7 separate regions of the Homo sapiens genome follow, and regions 2, 3, 4, 5, 6 and 7 are each linked to region 1. Evidence: promoter capture Hi-C in 16 types of primary human blood cells and fetal thymus (Javierre and others, 2016). All regions are on one chromosome and are shown on one strand. Each heading gives the region's core, a stretch centred on a gene start or on the middle of the fragment in contact. The rest is flanking DNA. Distances are from core to core; before and after follow the strand shown.

Region 1 (2,764 bases), core at 265-2,764:
TTGAGACGGGATCTCACTCTGTCACCCAGGCTGGAGTGCAGTGGCGGATCTCGGCTCCCTGCAACCTCCGTCTCTCAGGTTCAAGCGATTCTTCTGCCTCAGCCTCCTGAGTAGCTGGGACTACAGGCACGTGCCACCAACGCTCGGCTAATTTTTGTATTTGTTCTTTTTTAGTAAAGACGGGGTTTCGCCATGTTGGCCAGATTGGTCCCGAACTCCTGACCTCAGGGGATCCACCCGCCTCGGCCTCCCAAAGTGCTGGGATTACAGGCGTGAGCCACTGCGCCCGGCCTTGGCTGAGTTTTTATTAGATCTGAGCCGTTCAATTTCAATAGTTTAGGATCCAACCTCACTCTCAGGCAAAGAATAGAGGAAATGATACCAACGTATTTATCTGTCAATAAACACTTGGTGATTTGAATATGGTTAAGGGATTCCTGTAGTTTGCCCCCCTTAAAACTGAACTTTGTCCAAACCTGTTCTAAATATGTGTGTGCGTGTGCATGCATCTGGGTGTTGGGGAGGAGCGGTCGTAAAGTTCCTTTTAAATTTCACCTATGGGGGACTACTTCCCACCTCATCCTATGAAGTCAACATTAGCCTAAATACCAAAGCCAGATTAAGACACTACAAGAAAACTACGAAACAATATCTCTCACGAACACAGATGCAGAACTTCTAGACAAAACGTTTCCAAATTGAAGCGAAGACCATATTAAAAGGACAAAAGCACCTCAGTGGTTGCTTGGGGACTGGGGGAGGGGCTGGATTACTATCTTGGCTGTGGTGTCGAAAACCTATCAAATTGTTCACTTTAAATATGTGCAGTTTATTGTATCCCAACCATTCCTCAACAAAGCTGTTTTTCAGAAACATTTGTCCATGTAGTTTTGCCTTTGAATGGTTGGGTCAATGAAGAGAAAAACGAGTGAAAACAGGGAATCATGACACTTTGTTTTTTTACGTGTAAATATTCGCAAAACGCCCAAACTGGTAACTTTGGGAACACGGGTTCACGCAGAAGAAGGGCTGCTGTCTGGGGAGGACTGAAACTCGGGTTCCCGAAGTCGGGCTGCTCTGGGGCCACGGAGAGAAGGGGAGAGAACGTCGAGGAAGAGGCAGAGCTCAAGTGGACGGAGGATGGAACACAGAGCGCGGCCGGGACAAAGGGGCAGGCCAGACAGCCGTGACAGAGAAACTAGGCGGTCCGCTCCTGGGACGCGGTCTCGGGGGCGGGTTCGCCCCTGAGGCCCGGTGACCCTTCGCCCGCAACCAGGGCTAGCGCTTGTGTGCGCCCACGGAAGCACCCGAGCGACCGGAGAAAGAAAAAGTGGTCAAGGGGACCTCCTTCCAGCTCTACGCGCCTCTCATTCAGAGAGGTGAGGTCAGGAAAGGGGAAGGACGAAGCCCCAGAGCAACAGAAGTCAGGCGGTGCCAGGAACACTGAGAGCGGAGCCAGGGGAAGGCGGCCGAGCGCGGCCCCCTCTCCTCCCGGGCCGGGGCGGGCCCGAGGCCTCGATCCGCCTTCCCCGCGCCGTCCTGGTCACGGCCCCGCGGGGCAGCCATGCCTGGCCGTCTGCTGCGGGGCCTGTGGCAGCGATGGCGCCGTTACAAGTACCGCTTCGTTCCCTGGATCGCACTGAACCTAAGCCACAACCCGAGGTGAGAGGGCGGGACGGCAGAACGAGGGGCACCTGCCTTCGGTTCCCAGACGCCACCACGGCGGCGGGACGCAAAGCGGAGAGCCTGAGGCTGACTGCCGGCCTGAGATGGGCGGGCCCGGGTGGGCAGGGACTGAGGTGGGCGGGCCGGGTGGGCGGGGACTGAGGCCTCGGAGGGGTTTAAGGAACGCGGGCCAGAGGCGGGCGGGGCCGAGGTTGGTGGAGTCCGAGGCCCGCTGGAAGCCTGAAGTGGGCGGTGGCTTCAGGTGGGCGGGGCCTATGGCCTCTTTCCCAGTGTCCGCTGCGCTGCCGGGCCCGCGAGGCCGAGCTCGCCAGCCGGATGTGTCGCCTGTTCTTCCCTGTTGCGTTCGGCACTGACTGGGGAGCTTGTATCTGGGCAAAAATGGAAACTTTTTAAAAAGACTGCCCTTACCGCGTGAGAGTGCGTGGCTTTTTCTCCACCAGGGGTTAATTAGGTGCTTGAACTTCCTCAGAAAAGCCAAGCCAGGGTTTATTTTCATAGTTCATACAAGTACTTCACGTGGTTAAAGAAGCCCATCCCGGCTGTGAGAATAGCGTGCAGTAGCTCGCGCGTTAAGAACGGGCAGAACGCCACTCAAAAGCACGTCGGGATGGTGGGTTTCGGATTGGGGTGAGTCCCGCCGGCGTTATTAAGGGCGCACCAGTGATCAGCTCAACACCGTGCTCACCAAAGAGGCCGACCGGGCCTCCCTGAAGTCAGTGTCCGACAAATAGGGAAACAAAGCGGTTTCCGGAAGGTTGCATGCTAGGGAAACAGGAGATCAGTTGTATCATGACTCGGAACCGTGAGGCGGGAATTACAACCTTTTTGTTCAAGTAAAAATAATGCAGTTAGTACAAAAAGATAATGATTATGGAAATAAGAGGTGCAGTCATTGAAGACGTTAGTCGTCCTGGAGGGAGTGTCACAAAGTATACGATGTTGAATTTGTCTTTGAAACTACAAGGCCATTTTTAAAAAGCCATTGAATGTGAGGTCATTCATTCTCATTGTGATGACATTCAGCTTGGCTGTTGGGTGTAGTACGGGAAAGAGCTGAACTTCGTTTCTGCCTCTGGCT
Region 2 (2,700 bases), core at 25-2,524, 680 kb before region 1:
GTTCCCTCATCTGAAATGTGGAAGAGGGGTAGGTTGGATGACTGGTTCTGCATCTTTGCTGTCCATGAGAACTTCCCAAGGAGTGTTGGTTGGGCCAACCACTGCAGTTAAACTGGAATCTCCCTGGGTGGGATGCAAGCATCAGCATTTTCAGAATTTCTTCAGATGATTCTTTTTTCTTTTTTTTGAGACAGAGTCTTGCTCTGTCGCCAGGTTGGAGTGCAGTGGCCTGATCTCAGCTCACCGCAACCTCCACCTCCCAGGTTCAAGCGATTTCCTGCCTCAGCCTCCCGAGTAGCTGGGACTACAGGCGTGTGTCACCATGCCCAGCTAATTTTTGTATTTTCAGTAGAGACAGGCTTTCACCCTGTTGGCCAGGATGGTCTCGATCTCTTGACCTTGGGATCTGCCCACCTCGGCCTCCCAAAGCACTGGGATTACAGGCGTGAGCCTTGCGCCCGGCCCAGATGATTCTTAAGTACAGCCAATGTGAGAACCAACAGGTTACTTGATTGCTAAGATTCTTCCAGCTGCAATGTCTTCTGTCCCCATCTGCATGTAAAGACAGTACTGCTAGGGTTCACTTATCCAGACAGTAACGATTCATGAAAAACCCTCAACTAAAGCCCCATGTTCAACTTTTCCCGAGAAAGTCACCTCCCTTTGGTTTGTCCAACAATATAGTATTTAAAATCTGTATAATGGTCTCAACCCTCATGGTCTTTCATGCTTTTAAGAAAGAGGAAGGATTAATGGGTAATAAAACTATTCAGGAATGGCTTAGTTAATTATTATTCTAGGTCTTGCTATAAATGGTATCCTAGGGTTCTGAAAAAAATAATTAATGTAATTTAGTCATCCAGCACTAAGCCCTCATTTGATCTGAGGACTGCTACATTCAGGCTGAAGGTAGAGAGATGAGTAGTCTTTTGCACTTCAGAAACTCCCAGTCCAAGGTGATAATAACAACAGCAATAATAATAACAGCTGCAGCCAAAATGGGAAAATACTTATTGAATATCAGGCATTGCTAACAGGTGCTTTTTATATGTTATTATTTTAGATCCTCACAACAACCCTGCTAGGTAAGCATCATTTCCTTCATTGTATTCCTGGGGAAACTAAGGCCCAGAGAGGTTAGGTAACTTGCCAAGGTCACACAGCTAAGAAGTAGATGATCTGCCATTCTGATCTACGTCTATAAGATTTAAAATCCCATGCTCTTTCCATCATATGATAAAACCTCTAGAAAGAGAGAAAGGATTGAGAAATAGAGATAAAGATGGCAGGGAGAGGGTTAACTTCCATGGGAGAGAATCCGGCCCAGGTGGAGGAATTGCTGTGAATTGCTCACATGAAAGGTGTTAAAAGAAAATCAGTCTTGTAATTCTGTATCTTAACTATGTTTGGGGCTCAATCCTGTTAGAAGGTACAGCACTGGAACATGTAAATTCATTATGAAGAGCTAGTTCTTCTTCAGTCAGTCCCAGCTCCCTCCAATTAGTCTTCAAAAATAAACCCATTGTATGTTTCGTGGCTTAGCAACATCATTTTTCAGCCAGTGTGAGCTCTTTGGTTCTTAGCAGATTTTCACTTTTACTGACTGCCATCAGTGATATAAAATGTACCAGGAGGAGAGGATGGTGGTGGGCACAGCTGTGACAACGCCTTTCTCTATGCTGTTCAGATCCAAACACGGTATGAGCCGGCACGTTCTGAAGGCGCGCACACACACACACACACACACACACACACACACACACACACACATACACATACACAAACACTATTCCAAATGAGCTAAGACCTGGAGAACACACTATACACATATATACATTAGCTAACTCAGGAATCTAAATATAAATTTATTTTTGGAGAAACCCCCTGGGCTAAAATAATTCACCCACAAAGCCAGATGTAGCTTGAGGGGTAATAAACATGCTATGGCCTAGAGCAGGAAAAGGGAAAAAAGAATGAAGCAGTACATTTTCTTAATGAGGCTTTTTCAAACCACCATTTCATGTTGTAGCCAAAACAGATAAAATCACCAAAGGAACTTAGGATCTTGAAGAATATTCAGAGACTGTAGAAAGTGGTTTAAATAATAGATATTTAAGAAAAGATTCTAAAAAATATTTATTATGTTTATAAAATGGAAATTTCATGTTTATACTAAAAAAAGATTTACTATTACACATAAGTATTACACGAAGATGTATATAAACACATTGCATATGCAAAATGTATACACATAGACCACATGGCCAAATATGTGATATTATAAGGATAAGTTGATCTCACAGCAACATTTTGATGTGGAAAATTACCTCCACTCCAGAAATTATAAGTAAGGAAGATATACCCTGGCATTGCAAATAATAGCATAGGGATATGTCATTACACAACCTTGGATGAGATAACATATCAACCCGACATAAATACAGGCAACATCTATTCCTGAAAGGAATAAAAAAATGCTTACGAAGATACAGCAATGAGATACTGGGCTAATCGAATGACAAAAAAAATGTGATGTGTTCTTACATTGCTTACCCTAATTTTTAAAAAAGATTTGGAAAAAACAGAATAAAGATGACACTATCTGAAATAGTTGGTGTGCTTGAAATCCAGTTTTTAAAATTTGAAGGTAGGAATACTTCAACAAGATCATAAGCTTATACAACAGATCATAAGCTTATT
Region 3 (2,840 bases), core at 32-2,531, 910 kb before region 1:
CAAGATTATCCCTAAAGAGAAATAGTTGGAAAGCACAATTTAATAGCAAGTTGGTTCTATAAATGTAATATTTCAGTTCATAGTTCAAAAATACTTCCAAATAGGAATTAACATGAATTTAAGAAATTAACATAATGGCACACAGCTAAACTGATGATCTGAGTCCGTAATTTCAAATTAAGAGTTGTTCCAACTTGAAGCTGGCAGTCATACACAGTTTAAAGGGTTTGTTTACAGCACTGTCAAAAGCAAATACCACAATCTTTCAGAAAATTCACCCTGGCATTCTAATAACTAGTTATTTTAAGGCAGTATAATTGTTGAAATACTTCACAAACTAAGCCAAAATGCGTTTCCTTCTGAAGGCAAAAAAAAAAAAAAAAAAAAAAGGTGACGTCTTATTTTTAACCTGTGATTTTTTTTTTTTTTCAGTTTCGGATTATGAAATAAAATGCTGTTCATCCACTGAAGAACAGACCCTTGCTTCCTGCACTATCTTCAAAAGTTTAGGTCGGAGGAGGTAAAATTTTAAAAACTGATTTGTTCTCCTTGGGATACAGTGAGATGTGGAATTCGTTAGGAATGATAATTATTAATAGAAAAGATCAAAAGAAGGAAAGAAACGTTAATAGTGTTTATAAGCATTGTGAACTTTCAACAAAGCTGAAACGTTACGATTTCAAGATGAAAAAACGGCTTTGGGGAAGGGAAATCCACCTCGAGAATGAAGACAAGTGCGGAGCGAATAGAATTTCAGGGGAGATGAAAAGGGGATTGGGAAAAACGTGGGATCTGGTAACAAAAAGGGGGGTTTGTTCTTGAAGGGCGTTCTGCGGGGCGGGCGTTAAGAGGGGTGCGTGCGTGCGCCTGGGTGAAGTTTGTACTCAGGGCTGCGATAATCGAGGTGACAAAGTTGTGGAAGTAGAATTCGGAGGTCCGGGAGCAGGAAGGGGAAGGAATGTGGGGATTTCCAGGCTGGGCTGACAAGTTCCGGGCGCTGCTCTCAGGGGGAAGGGAGGTCTCCTCGAGTGCCAGATAGCCCGTCCGAAACCACCGACACTCTAACTCCAGCTACGCGACCCAGCACCCGGCCCCTCCTCACCTCAGGCCGCGCCGCCTCGACCCTCCGCGTCTCCACAGCGCACGAACCCCTTGGCGCCAGGCTGGGCCAGACCCGTCGGCCTGGCAGGCGCGGCCCCCGGTTCAGCTGCGCCGGGGCGGCCCAGCGCGACTCCGCGGGCCTTTTGGCTGCTCGCCCCGGCTCCGGAACACTGTCAGATCCTTCTCCGCAGAGGTAGCGCGCCACCCCAGTCCCGCGGCGGGGCGGGGCGCTCCCCAATCCCGCCCAGCTGCGCCCCCGGCCGGCCAACGCTGCGCCCCGCCCCCTACCGGGACCTAGGCGCTGATTGGCCCCTGAGAGACCCTTTGCGCCCAGGCATTGGTCCAGTGGCCGCCTGTCGACGAGGGGGCGGGACTCCGAGGGGTAGCGATTCCCGTAACGCGGCTCTTCGCGTCCCGGATTCCGGTGGCTGCGTCCGCGTCGCCTCTCCCAGACTAGATCGAAGGGTTCCCCCCACCTCCCCTCTGTGGGCGGAAAGAGCGGAATGTTCCATTTTTCTGTGGAATAACGGGGTCATGAACTGGAGCCCGGGTGCTGCCCGCCGCCCGCTGCCCCCGCCCTCCCTTCTCGCCAGGGCGCCTGCGGCCTCTCTTCGCGGCCTTCCCCGAGGGACTCAGAGCCGCGAGGGACCGCCTAGCTCCCTTGGGGATGGGGAAGGCGTGGGAGCCTCTTGGGGAAAGTGAAGAGCTCGGTGGCCGTGACTCCGCACGAGACTGCGGCAGATTGTGGCGGCGGCTTCTCTCCAAGACTTACGTAAACGAGCCTTGCCACAGTACTTTTTTAAATTAGTAAATGAGTTTGGGTGCGATTGATCAGTGAGCCCCAGAGGTGGTGGCCCACCAAGCGACTAGTGTTTCTTTGCGGTTTGTACCTCCCCGTTTATGATAAAAAATACCGGGTAAAAACCTATTCATCCCGCCTCCGCCCCCCCCTTTCCCTCAGAAAATGGACCTCAAGGCTCATGATGTTTGTTTCTCCCCAAAGGAAGATGAGAATCTTGAGTTAAAAGATAAGGCATGTGCGTGCGTGCGTGTGGGGTGTGTGCGTGGGTGTCTGTAAAAGTAAACACCCAAAGGTAGAGGTTTTTGTGGAAGAATGAGAGGATATAGGAAGGAAATAATGGTTTAATGAACTTAAATTATATCCATAAATTAACAATTATAAAGTTCTTCATTATATTGAGGATTCAGATAGAGTAAAACATAGATCGAATTTTAATCTCTTAGTTGTTGATCAGATAATTTATAAAAGGGCAAAGTGGGCCTGCTAACGGAGTCGCAGGCAAAGTAGATGGTGCTGCAGCTGATGTGTTCAGCTCTTGCTCCTCCCTGTCATCCTATATCTAACCTATAGATTGTGACCAGATTCTGTTCTAGCTTTGCCATTTAGAGGGGTGTTTATTTTAAAACAAATTTTTATAAAAATTTGTTAAATTGAAAATTTTGTATAGATCCAGGAAACTTGATTTTTTTGTTGTTGTTCACAGTCTCACTCTGTCACCCAGGCTGGAGTGCAGTGGCTGGATCATGCTCACCGCACGTTCAAATTCCTGGGCTCTAGCGATCCTCCCACCTCAACCTCCCAAGTATCTCAGACTACAGGTGCCCCTACAATACCTGGCCAATTTTTAAAATTTTTGGAGAGACAAGATTTTGGTATGCTGACCCGGCTGGTCTTGAACTGCTGGCAACAAACGATCCTCCGGCCTTAGTGGCCTCCC
Region 4 (2,700 bases), core at 42-2,541, 990 kb before region 1:
GTTGTTTTTCTCAGGCTGGGGACGTCAGAGTCAGGCTTTATTTAACTGGCATTGGGGTTTTCTAGTGAGTATTCCTTAACTAGAAACCCTCCATTTGCATAAATTTTTAAGTGGAAAACCGTTAGGGAAATTTTAAGGTTTAATTTCTTGCTTACGTAGAAACAAGCCCAATCAAATATAACCTTTAAATCCTTGTTACTGAAAGGCTGTTTCCAGTTTTTCCTTGATGCACAAATTTTAAATATTAGTCCTCGTTCCCACTCAGAAGTCTTTTTTGAGCATGGGCCTTTTGTTATAATGGGCTTTCTTTCTGTTTCCTCCTCTTATCAGTCCGGTATACTGGACTGATTTATACCCCCATTTACTTTCCTGCTTATTAAATGTCATTTAGAGAGTAAATGGATTCATAGGCAGTGCTCTCTGATAACTAACATGCTTTTTGAATAATCCGTAGGTTGGACCTCTAGAGCCGGCACTTATTAATCACTCACTACATGCCAGGTGCTGGGCTAGGCCCTAGGGATACAAATGACAAAGTCACTGTCCCTGCCATGAGGCCACTTCTGATTTTCTGGTGAGGTTGAACAAGTCTGTCTCTATGATGTGGTTTTTCCATCCCTAAGAGTTCTAATTTTAGTTCTTCCATCTTAACTGGGGTTTTGTGAACATGGGATTGTGTGGAAAATAGCCTTGCACACTCTAGCAGAAGAAATTGTTTGAATTGGCTGGGTACAGCGGCTCATGCCTATAATCCCAGCATTTTGGGAGGCCAAGGCAGGGGGGATTGCTTGAGCTCAGGAGTTTAAGACCAGCCTGGGTAACATGACAAAACCCCATCTCTACAAAAAATTAAAAAGTAGCCAGGTATGGTGGTGTGCATCTGTAGCCCCTGCTACTCAGGAAGCTGAGGGGGAAGAATTACCTGAGGCTGAGAAGTTGAGGCTGCAGTGAGTGGTGATCATGCTACTGTACTCCAGCCTGGGCAACGGGAGTGAGACCCTGTCTCAAAAAAAAAAAAATTATATACATATAAATAAATAAATTTTAAAAATTGTTTGAATCCAGGGCACTGTTTCTCAGGAAATGTGCCACTCCTTCCAAGCTCTGTGGAAGGGCATGCAGAGAGGGTTGGCTACCACTTCTGGGCCTGGGAGGAAGGTGGGGGCTGTTCCAGAGATGGGCATTTGCTGTCCCAAGCCTAACGAGTTTTTGGCTATGTCATATGTGACTCCTAAATGACCACTTGGGATGTCCCTTTTTCTTTTCCAGGATAAGCTAAACCTGAAGGAGTCTGATGACTCTGTGAACACAGAAGACAGGATCTTAAAACCATGTTCCACCCCCAGTGACAAGTTGGTGATTGACAAGTTGGTGGTGAACTTTGGGAATGTTCTGCAAGAAATTTTCACAGATGAAGCCAGAACGGGTCAGGAAAACAATTTAGGAGGGGAAAAGAATGGGTATGTGACCTGCCCCTTCAGGCCTGATTGTCCCCTGGGGAAAAGTTTTGAGGAGCTCCCAGTTTCACCTGAGATTCCGCCCAGAAAATCCCAATACCTACGTTCGAGGATGCCAGAGGGGACCCGCCCAGAAGCCAAAGAGCAGCTTCTCTTTTCTGGTCAAAGTTTAGTACCAGATCATCTGTGTGAGGAAGGAGCCCCAAATCCATATTTGAAAAATTCAGTGACAGCCAGGGAATTTCTTGTGTCTGAAAAACTTCCAGAGCACACCAAGGGAGAAGTCTAAATGCGACCATAGCATGAGACCCTCGGGGCCTCAGTGTGGATGGCCCTTGCCAGAGAAGATGTCAAGACTCGGCACGCAGCGCTTGCTTGGCCCTGCCACATCCTGCCTAGGTTAAAGTTTCCCCTGCCCCTTGAGCTGCCAGTTGAACTTGGTCGGCAAAGATGCGACCTTGTACTGGGAAGAAGGGATGGTGATAAGCCCGAGTTTTGTAAAGGAACAGCAGTCTCTTTTCGTTTGTTCAGATACCAAGCTCTCACCGAGGCCTCCTGACAGATTGACTTTGAAGGAAGGGCCCAGGTTCTGAGCCCAAAGGACCCCCAGGGTGGACATATCTGGCCTCCCAGGAATTGGGTCATGGTCCCAGCCTTTGCTGGGGCTGAGCCTCAGAGTTCCAGAAGGCCTTTCCCTGCTGCCAGAGGACAGTTGTTTTGTTGGCTCTTGGGTGGTCTGGTGGGAGCCTGGGCTCTGGTCTTCCCCTACAAGGTAGCCCTGAAGCCTTCCTCTCTCCCCATAGTTGGGGCTGGAGGTGGAGTGGACCTTCCTAAGGGGTTGTCTGAGGCTCCTCACATCCTCTTAGATCTCAAGTGCCTGTAGCAACACCGCACCTGAGAATCCTCACCCCCAATTTAGACTGCATTGACTACTAAAAAATCAAGGAATGGGGAGGGCCCTGGGGAATGTATGCTGCCGGGCGCAGCTCTGTCCAGTCTCCAGGGGGCCACTTCCCAGCTGCTGCTGCCCTTCTATTCAGCACCCAGCCTGGGAGCAGAAAGGCACCTGACATTGCAGTGGTTGTCATATAGGGACGCTGGCCCCTCACACTGGTTCAGAGCCCAGGAATGCTTACTTAAAAGGCCTCTTCCCGGAAGCAGCAGGGCAGGGCCTGGGAACATGCAATGCCTAGCAAATTTGCAGCCCCAACAGGAGGACTTCTGCTCCTTTTCTCTAGCTGAG
Region 5 (2,716 bases), core at 89-2,588, 970 kb before region 1:
ATTTTATGACTCCATATTCTTTTAATTTACAGAAAAGTACAAATTTTTTAGAAAGTAATCTTATCAGCACAATATAATCTAACAATACCTGTAATAGAAAGCTATCCCAGTAAATTTTTTTTGAACAATTGAACTTTTGTCTTATGCAGCTTATAACTTTGTTATTTTATTCATCTCAACAAAATAAAACTTTATTGAAACAAAAGTGTATGGTTTAGGAATATGCTCTTAATAACAACTGAGCAAAATTAGAATGATGTGGACTATAACAGAATGAAGGAAGATCTCTCCTGCTTGATGTACTTGGTCAATATATGTTAGTAAACAGAAATATTTTAGGGAATTCTATGATTATTCTACTTCTACATTTACATGTCATGGTTTTAACTAGTTAAATGGGTAGAAAAAAGACATCTTTAATAATTGATTTCTATTTCTCAAACTAGATGCTCTACTTTAAATATGAGCTTTAATGAATGTTTTGTAACATTTTAAAGTTGTAACATTTCTAAGTATACTCCACTAACTTCACAATAAGAGCTAGGGTCACTGGATGACTTCATGTGGTAAAATCCCTTATCAAGGAATAAGGCTGAAATTTAAATGAACAATTAGGTAGAGAAGAGGTATGAACACAGAACATGTGAATGAAATTTGCTTTTTTTCCTTGCTGCTGTTCCCGAGTGCCGACTGATCCATAGTAAAAAAGGACAAGATTAAAATTTTAGGTTTTAATGGTACAAAGTGTGAAGTTTTATAGTTTTCTAATAATTATTCAGTATTATCCCTTTCAGAGATGAGGGTAGGATACCACAGACATCAGTAACTGACAAGTTATAATATCAACACATGTAACATTTGGGTCATTATTTTATAACCCTAAAGGGAGCAACTGCAGGTGCAGAAGCAGTGAGTGAACTAGTTTTGTCCAGACAAGGTTTTCTGATGTGCTATTACTTTAAACACCACTTTTGGACACTAAAGATTTAAAGTGATAAAGCCACTAACTAACTTTATTAGACTAGTTTTTACATAAATAACCAGATTTCTTTGCCTACCTAAAGTACAATTTACATGCATCAACACATAGATTATTCTAAGACATGCTTGGGAAAGTAATTTTGAATGTAAAAAGTTTTATAATTTATTTTCTCCTTAGGGCAGGTGTACATTACATATTAGTGCTCAAATATATGTTCATTTCCAGAATGAATTTTTGCACAGTAATCATATATCCATTTAATATGTATAAAGTGTTCTTGGGGATGGGGGTATATTCACTCACTGTACCATGTTTTATACAGGCTTCAACATGCAAATTTGTTTATATCATGGCCTTCAATGATCCTCCATTCTCATTCCTGTAGATTAAGAGTTCATATTGTATATCTGACCCTGAAATGTACAAACTTCACACTACAACATTCTTCATGACACTATTTGTTATGAGGAAAGTTGCAGCTAAATATTAGTCATGTGACTTAAATTTTGAGAAAATGGAAAATGTAATAGGTATAAATTTCCTGACACATACAGCAAGACAAATCCAGCCCAGCCTTTGATGATCAACTTAAAAGCTGGAGATGTCATTATCTTGTTGTGTAAATTTGGGTCTATCCCTACCTTTACTTCTCTGTGCCTGATTTTCCTCATCTACTTTGAATTCGTCATTCTATTAATCTACTTTTGCCTAAAGTGGGAAACTGAATATATCAGAATGAAACATCTATTTTTTTCATAAAGAAGATCATATAATATGTGAAAGAACTTTGAAAGGATGAGGCATTATATAAATGCAAGAATATAAAAGATAAACAGGAAGTCTAATGTGAACAATATTCTGAGAGTAAAAAGTGTAATTATATTTCCATTGTAAATGTATACCAAGTTTTCTTAGCTTTCTATTCTCCAATAACCTCTAGAAACTATTCTAAGCATGCCTGGTTTCTGTAACTTAAATATGGCATAAAAACCTGTTTCCTTTGAATTCACTTGATAGCAGTAGTCAATCACTAATAACGCTTGCTAATTTCCTCTTACTTTCTAAGAAAACCCCTATATTTAGCATCTGCTTCCATATCGCACGTGGTGGTTAGGGGACAGCATAAGTACACTAGCGGCTTTAGCACTAAACTCGAGGCCTGGGTCACTTCTCCCTTGAAGAAAAAAGGTTTTAAAAATTCCTAAATCACAATGTAGAACTAAGTTCCACCCTACCTCAGAACTGCAGACATTAAAATACCATCTCTTTATTAAGTGTCTCTACAATAATGATATTTGCTAAGAACAAGATGTACATTTTTTGGGGTTCTGTTTTGTTTTGGCAAATATTGCCCAAGTTGTCTTAGTGTGCCTCAAACATTTACTAAAAATAAAAAAATTTAAATCTTTGCCTACTTATTTAAAAATAAAAAAAATACTCAAAACAAATTTAAGCTGAAGATATATACTGTATAAAGTGTTCATCTACCCAGTACTCTGAAGTCTTAAGAAAAGTCAATGATATGTGTGTGTATATATATATATATATATACACACATTAGCAATTTAAGCCTTTTAACATGCCAATTTTTTAGATGCTTTATTGGTTTTTTTTCCCCTTTACTACTACTTCCTGTTTTCCCCTTTACTACTACAATTTAAGCCTTTAAAAATGGCAATTTTTTAGATGCTTGAGATAGTTTGGGGGATCCCTAGCTCTTATCATGGCACTCTG
Region 6 (2,744 bases), core at 187-2,686, 940 kb before region 1:
CTTTGACTGCTGAAGCACAGGATACTATATCAGTCTGACCTCCTTCCAGTTTATCTTACATACTACTGTCAGTTACTGTTCTAAAATAATTAGGACATTTGTCTACTTTAAATTATTTAGTGGCTACCTACTACCAAGATAAAAGTCCCAACTATTTGACATGATTTTATTCTTTTTCTCTAGCTTCAATGTCCACAATTTTAAGGTGGCTTTCCTCAATGAATCCTATTTGCTGTGGGGTTCCTGGGTAGTTACCCATGAAGTGTTTTTGAGATTAAAAATTACTAGCCTGGGCAACATGGCAAAACCCCATCTCTACAAAAAAAATATAAATATTAGCCAGGCATGGTGGCACACGCCTGTAGTCCCAGCTACTTGGGGGTGAGGGTCGTGTGCTGAGGCAGGAGGATTGCTTGAGCCCAAGAGGTCAAGGCTGCAGTGAGCCCAGAAAAAATTAAAAACAGTTTTTGCAGTCAAAATTGTATCCCCAAATGGAATCCCAGGACCTCTCACAAAGCCTGTAAAACCCAGAGCTGGAATGTGTATTTCTTTGTTTCAAACTTATAATGTGGTCTGTTTATATCATCTTGCTGTTATTTATAAATGCCTACTGTAAATCTTAGTGCATATATTACTCTCAATTTCCAATAGCATGGTCCTTCATCCAGTGGAGAATCTCTACTAAGTTACTCTCTGATACTGGGTCAGACCTTACAATTCCCTAGACATCACTTTATTCTTTGGCAAAATCACTTGTTATACTTTCTCTAAAGTAATCATAGGGATGTTAAATATGAAATATACTCTAGAGTTCTAAAAAGATATAATTAGAGACTCAGTATGAATAATTTTTAATCACACAGAATAAGAGAAATATTAAAAATGGGCAAATGGGCTGGGCGCAGTGGCTCACACCTGTAATCCCAGCACTTTGGGAGGCCGAGGTGGGTGGATCACGAGGTCAGGAGATCAAGGCCATCGTGGCTAACATAGTGAAACCCTGTCTCTACTAAAAATACAAAAAATTAGCCGGGCGTGGTGGCGGGCGCCTGTAGTCCCAGCTACTTGGGAGGCTGAGGCAGGAGAATGGTGTGAACCCAGGAGGCGGAGCTTGCAGTGAGCCAAGATCACACCACTGCACTCCAGCCTGAGCGACAGAGTGAGATTCAGTCTCGAAAAAAAAGGGGCAAATGTTCCGTTTTTCAAAGTGAGACACAGCTTCAATAATACCATCCCATGTCAAATTAATCCCATTTTACAGGGCTACCAGGCTGAGATTAAATTGTAAAAAGAAAGTATTTTAATTAAGAAAGGTATCTGATAAAGTTATTTTGAATGTTTATAGGGCAAGATGAAGAAATGTGAATTAGAATACACTATAACTGGGTTGGACGCAGTGACTCACGTCTGTAATCCCAGCACTTTGGGAGGCCGAGGTGGATGGATCACCTGAGATGAGGAGTTCTAGACCAGCCTGACCAACATGGTGAAATCCCGTCTCTACTAAAAATACAAAAATTACCCGGGCGTGGTGACCTGCACCTGTAATTCCAGCTACTCAGGAGGCTGAGGCAGGAGAATTGCTTGAACCTGGGGGGCAGAGGTTGCAGTGAGCTGAGATTGTGCCACTGCACTCCAGCCTAGGCAACGAAACGAGATTCCATCTCAAAAAAAAAGAAAAAAAGCAAAAAAAAAAAGAATATACTATAACCGATATTACAATGAACATTATGAAATTGCTGATATTTTGCTACTTTTATAGGTTCATACTCAAATTTATATTTGATTACCCATATATAAAAAAACTGACTTAAGAAAAAAGTCAATTAGAGGATAGTCTTAAGTAGAATATGCTGAAGTGCATGCCCTCAATCCTTGGAGAAGACTGTATTTTAAGAATGGCCACACCTACATATTTATCCCATCCCACGTTTTTCTTACGATGTCACGCATACTCTTTTCATGAAGAGGTGGGGACTGCATTTCCCCCAACCACATCAGATCTGTATGGGTGCCTTGTGTCCACTCCAGCCAATGGAGTGTGCTATGAGACTTCAGAGGCTAGATCATTAAAAGAATACAGACTCCAATTAGCTTTCTTTCTCTCTCCCGGGATATCTGCCCTTAGAACCCAGCCACACATTGTAAGAAAGCCAGGGCCATAAAAAGAGGCCACGTATGGTGTTTTGGACAATGGCCCCAGCAAAGCCCTCAGCCTGCAGATACCATTAACAACAGACATATAAGCGAAGGAGTCTGAAGATGACTCCAGCCCCCAGTCTGAATATTGCAGCTGAGGCCCCAGACATTGTACAGCAAAGATGAATACGTCTGATTGTGCCTGCCTATCTATAGTCTTGTCCTATACAAATCATGAGAGGTATTATTATCATTTTAAGCCTTGAAGATTTGGAGTATTTGTGAGGCAGCAACAGGTAGCTAATGCAGTCCTGTTATTTTCAACATTTTAATCAACAACTTGGGAAAAGACAGACACACATGCTTATCAAATTAGCAGAGGACAGGACTACAAACAACTGCCAACACTTCGGATGAAAATGTTGGGATTTAAAATTATGCTGAAAGAGTAGAACACCAGGCTAAAACTGATAAAATGAAATTAGCAACAGAGGAAATATATCCTATTTAGGTAATAAGAAATATACATTGGGTGAGGGAGAACTAGTTTAAGAGTAACTCATGTAAAAACCACCTGAGAATTTTCACTGATCACTAGCTCAACA
Region 7 (2,700 bases), core at 176-2,675, 950 kb before region 1:
GGTACCATCTTCTTGTTGCCAGTCTGTGATACAGGGTGCTTTATCTGATAACACACACCACTCAAGTATATATTTCTTTACAGATTCCCTTGGAGTAGTCCATTCCACCCAAAGCATGTTATCTTTGGGGAATGCTTTAAGATCCATTACAGGGTGAGTAGCTTTAAAACAAAGTTTGAATATTGAAATAATAAATATTAACAAATTTGAAATTTCCATATTTTACAGTCATTTCCAAAACATGTGATTTATCAATTTTTGTAGCATATACTTCCTTGCCTAAAAGCACTTTATTATAACTTACAGGTAAAGTAGTCAATTTTTAAACTTAGATTTTGCTTCCCCGCTGGGCACTGTGGCTCATTCCTGTAATTCCAACATTTTACGAGGCCAAGGCAGGTGGATCACTTGACATCAGGAGTTCGAAACCAGCCTGGCCAACACGGTGAAACCCCGTCTCTACTAAAAATACAAAATTAGCCAGGCATTGTGGTGCGTGCCTTTAATTCCAGCTACTTGGGAGGCTGGTGCACAAGAATCGCTTGAAGCCAGGAGGCAGAGGCTGAGATCGTGCCATTGCACTCCAGCCTAGGCGACAGAGCAAGACTGTCTCAAAAAGAAAAAAAAAAATTTGCTTTCCCTAAATTCTTCAAATGCTTTCGGTTTGTAATTGCAATTTTTCTTCTTTGAAAGCTACGAATAAAGCTACAGATAAACGTTTCAGTCATATGTATACAAAGTTCTCAAAATCTTGAAATAATATTTTAAAAACCAGGTAAGTAATCAGAATATGCTTAAATGAATGAAGTAGCTTACTGTGAAGTTTAAGTGAGCATGTAGTGATGGAAATGTTCTTGCATCCTGATGAAATTTGTCTGCTGACTGATTCCTAAAAATGCGATCACTAGCTGGGTTTGGTGGCATATGCCTGTTAATCCCAGCACTTTGGGAGGCCAGGGGAGATCGCTTGAGCTCAGGAGTTCGAGACCAGCCTGAGCAACCTGGCGAGACCCAGTCTCTGAAAAAAAGAAAATCATTATTTATAAAATTTAAAAAATTAAAAAATAAACAAGTGATTATCCCTGATACTGAGGAGACAGTCTTAGATAACTTGTGTTTTTTATGGGAGCCCTGTCCATACCTAACCACCATTTTTCCACCCAAGAGTCAGGCTCCATCTCACAGATACAAACCTTGAAAGTCACAGGCAGGGATAGTTAAAACAGCTGCATCTGATTTGCCAACAAGATTTCTTACTGTTAGGGTTGCTAGATAGCGATCATTTGTGAGATTTACTGTCAGTTTTGTGGCATTAACTGTGTAATTTTGTAAATGTGATTTCCATCTTGTGAGAGTCACTTCATAATCCAAGATTTTTCCATTGGCTTCAAAAGGAGGCAATGTCTGTAATAAAATAGTTTATTTTTAAAAATAATCTCATAAATCTTGAATAAAAAATCAGTTTTTCTTCATATTCACAAATCATGCCATTATGTCAAATCTCTAAATATTTAACTGGAAAGGATTCACAATCTCCATTTTAAATTTGGTTCTAAAATAAAACTAGTACATACTAAATGAAGAGTAAAAGCATGACCTCAACTAAAAAAGGGTAAGTAGCATCATTCCGTTAGCTTTTGGTTCTGTATCAATTCTGCACTGTGGCTATGTAGGTCTAAATTATTTATTTTATGCTTGAGTATTTTTCTACCTTCTTTTTTAGTATGATCTACTCATGCACTTACCAGCATACATTTTGATTATCACAAACTTTTATTATTTTCTGAGTTACTCTGGAAAATTCCAAAGTACAAAAACAACATTCCTCTTCTTATAGAACTTATACTTTCACAGAACTGTACTTAAATACCTATAAGGTATTATTTGTAGTTTATGAACCTGACTTCTATATAATATTAATACATATAAAGCATTACCTTTCTATTTAGTAAAAATAGTAATCAAATGCTTTGCTATTAAAATGAATAAAAATTTATCTATTTAAAAGACCTCCATTCATAATACCATACAAAATGTATTTATAAGGGCTGGGCGCGGTGGCTCATGCCTGTAATCCCAGTACTTTGGGAGGCCGAGGCAGGCAGAACATGAGGTCAAGAGATCAAGATCATCCTGGCCACCGTGGTGAAACCCTGTCTCTGCTAAAAATACAAAAATTAGCGGGGCGTGGTGGCGCACACCTGTAGTCCCAGCTACTCAGGAGGCTGAGGCAGGAGAATCACTTGAACCTGGGAGGCAGAGGTTGCAGTGAGCCAAGATCACGCCACTACACTCCTGCCTGGCAATGGAGCGAGACTCGGTTTCAAAAAAAAAAAAAAAGATTTATAAGAGATAAAATATAAATGTGATTTTTTACCTTCCACACGAGTTGTACAGTTCTGTAGCCTTGAGTATGGGATGGATCTATTTTATACCAGAAACTTGGTGCTTTAGATGGTCCTAAAGAAAAGACATAAACTCCTTAAAATAAAAAGGTTTTAACAGTAAAATAAAATTCTGCAAATTATTCTTTTACTTTGTTCTTAATACTCTTGCCCTCCAATTGCATGGTGTCTCTACCTCTTTATACCAGCATTTTCCCAACCCAGCACAAAACACCTGGCTCTTCCTTTAGTCAGGGTGATAGCCTGATCAATTATACTGGAACTCTTTTCTAACCTCAAAATTGTAAAGGTAAAA

Evidence for each region. Contacts are between HindIII fragments. The CHiCAGO score rates a contact against its expected background, and 5 or more counts as called.
Region 2: a fragment that was not itself captured here is called in contact with the fragment with the promoter of SETD9 in region 1 in 1 of 17 cell types (activated CD4 T cells); the score reaches 5.0 in activated CD4 T cells.
Region 3: the fragment with the promoter of IL6ST here is called in contact with the fragment with the promoter of SETD9 in region 1 in 5 of 17 cell types (naive B cells, neutrophils, total CD8 T cells and 2 more); the score reaches 6.9 in naive B cells.
Region 4: a contact is called between a fragment that was not itself captured here and the fragment with the promoter of SETD9 in region 1, in 4 of 17 cell types (fetal thymus, monocytes, non-activated CD4 T cells and 1 more). The highest score is 6.0, in fetal thymus.
Region 5: a fragment that was not itself captured here is called in contact with the fragment with the promoter of SETD9 in region 1 in 5 of 17 cell types (naive B cells, non-activated CD4 T cells, monocytes and 2 more); the score reaches 8.2 in naive B cells.
Region 6: a contact is called between a fragment that was not itself captured here and the fragment with the promoter of SETD9 in region 1, in 7 of 17 cell types (total CD8 T cells, naive CD4 T cells, naive B cells and 4 more). The highest score is 8.8, in total CD8 T cells.
Region 7: a contact is called between a fragment that was not itself captured here and the fragment with the promoter of SETD9 in region 1, in 9 of 17 cell types (monocytes, naive CD4 T cells, total CD4 T cells and 6 more). The highest score is 11.5, in monocytes.

Annotation. Positions count from the first base shown.
Region 1 is chr5:56,908,082-56,910,845 of GRCh38, forward strand. It overlaps SETD9 (SET domain containing 9), which reads left to right and starts at 1,515. Exons shown (of 6, transcript NM_153706.4): 1 at 1,515-1,662. The coding sequence starts at 1,565. RefSeq lists enhancers at 1,151-1,240, 2,031-2,080, 2,176-2,764 and silencers at 1,391-1,600, 1,781-1,990. The HindIII fragment of the contact is 6,770 bases long and covers 1-2,764 here.
Region 2 is chr5:56,229,928-56,232,627 of GRCh38, forward strand. All of the region lies in intron 2 of ANKRD55 (ankyrin repeat domain 55), which reads right to left. Among named protein-coding and RNA genes, the nearest start is that of ANKRD55, 2.1 kb to the right of the region's middle. The HindIII fragment of the contact is 2,795 bases long and covers 1-2,672 here.
Region 3 is chr5:55,993,682-55,996,521 of GRCh38, forward strand. IL6ST (interleukin 6 cytokine family signal transducer) reads right to left here and starts at 1,282. Exons shown (of 17, transcript NM_002184.4): 1 at 1,103-1,282. It overlaps IL6ST-DT (IL6ST divergent transcript), which reads left to right and starts at 1,486. Exons shown (of 2, transcript NR_102755.1): 1 at 1,486-1,873. RefSeq lists cis regulatory regions at 50-2,368, 1,062-1,735, a silencer at 1,013-1,492 and an enhancer at 1,324-1,835. The HindIII fragment of the contact is 8,053 bases long and covers 1-2,840 here.
Region 4 is chr5:55,915,375-55,918,074 of GRCh38, forward strand. IL31RA (interleukin 31 receptor A) reads left to right here. Exons shown (of 15, transcript NM_139017.7): 15 at 1,270-2,700. The coding sequence ends at 1,746. Among named protein-coding and RNA genes, the nearest start is that of IL31RA, 65 kb to the left of the region's middle. The HindIII fragment of the contact is 5,310 bases long and covers 1-2,700 here.
Region 5 is chr5:55,937,621-55,940,336 of GRCh38, forward strand. IL6ST (interleukin 6 cytokine family signal transducer) reads right to left here. Exons shown (of 17, transcript NM_002184.4): 17 at 1-2,716. Among named protein-coding and RNA genes, the nearest start is that of IL6ST, 56 kb to the right of the region's middle. The HindIII fragment of the contact is 3,697 bases long and covers 1-2,716 here.
Region 6 is chr5:55,971,338-55,974,081 of GRCh38, forward strand. All of the region lies in intron 3 of IL6ST (interleukin 6 cytokine family signal transducer), which reads right to left. Among named protein-coding and RNA genes, the nearest start is that of IL6ST, 22 kb to the right of the region's middle. The HindIII fragment of the contact is 6,726 bases long and covers 1-2,744 here.
Region 7 is chr5:55,954,832-55,957,531 of GRCh38, forward strand. It overlaps IL6ST (interleukin 6 cytokine family signal transducer), which reads right to left. Exons shown (of 17, transcript NM_002184.4): 9 at 2,378-2,460; 10 at 1,194-1,404; 11 at 1-161. Among named protein-coding and RNA genes, the nearest start is that of IL6ST, 39 kb to the right of the region's middle. The HindIII fragment of the contact is 4,335 bases long and covers 1-2,700 here.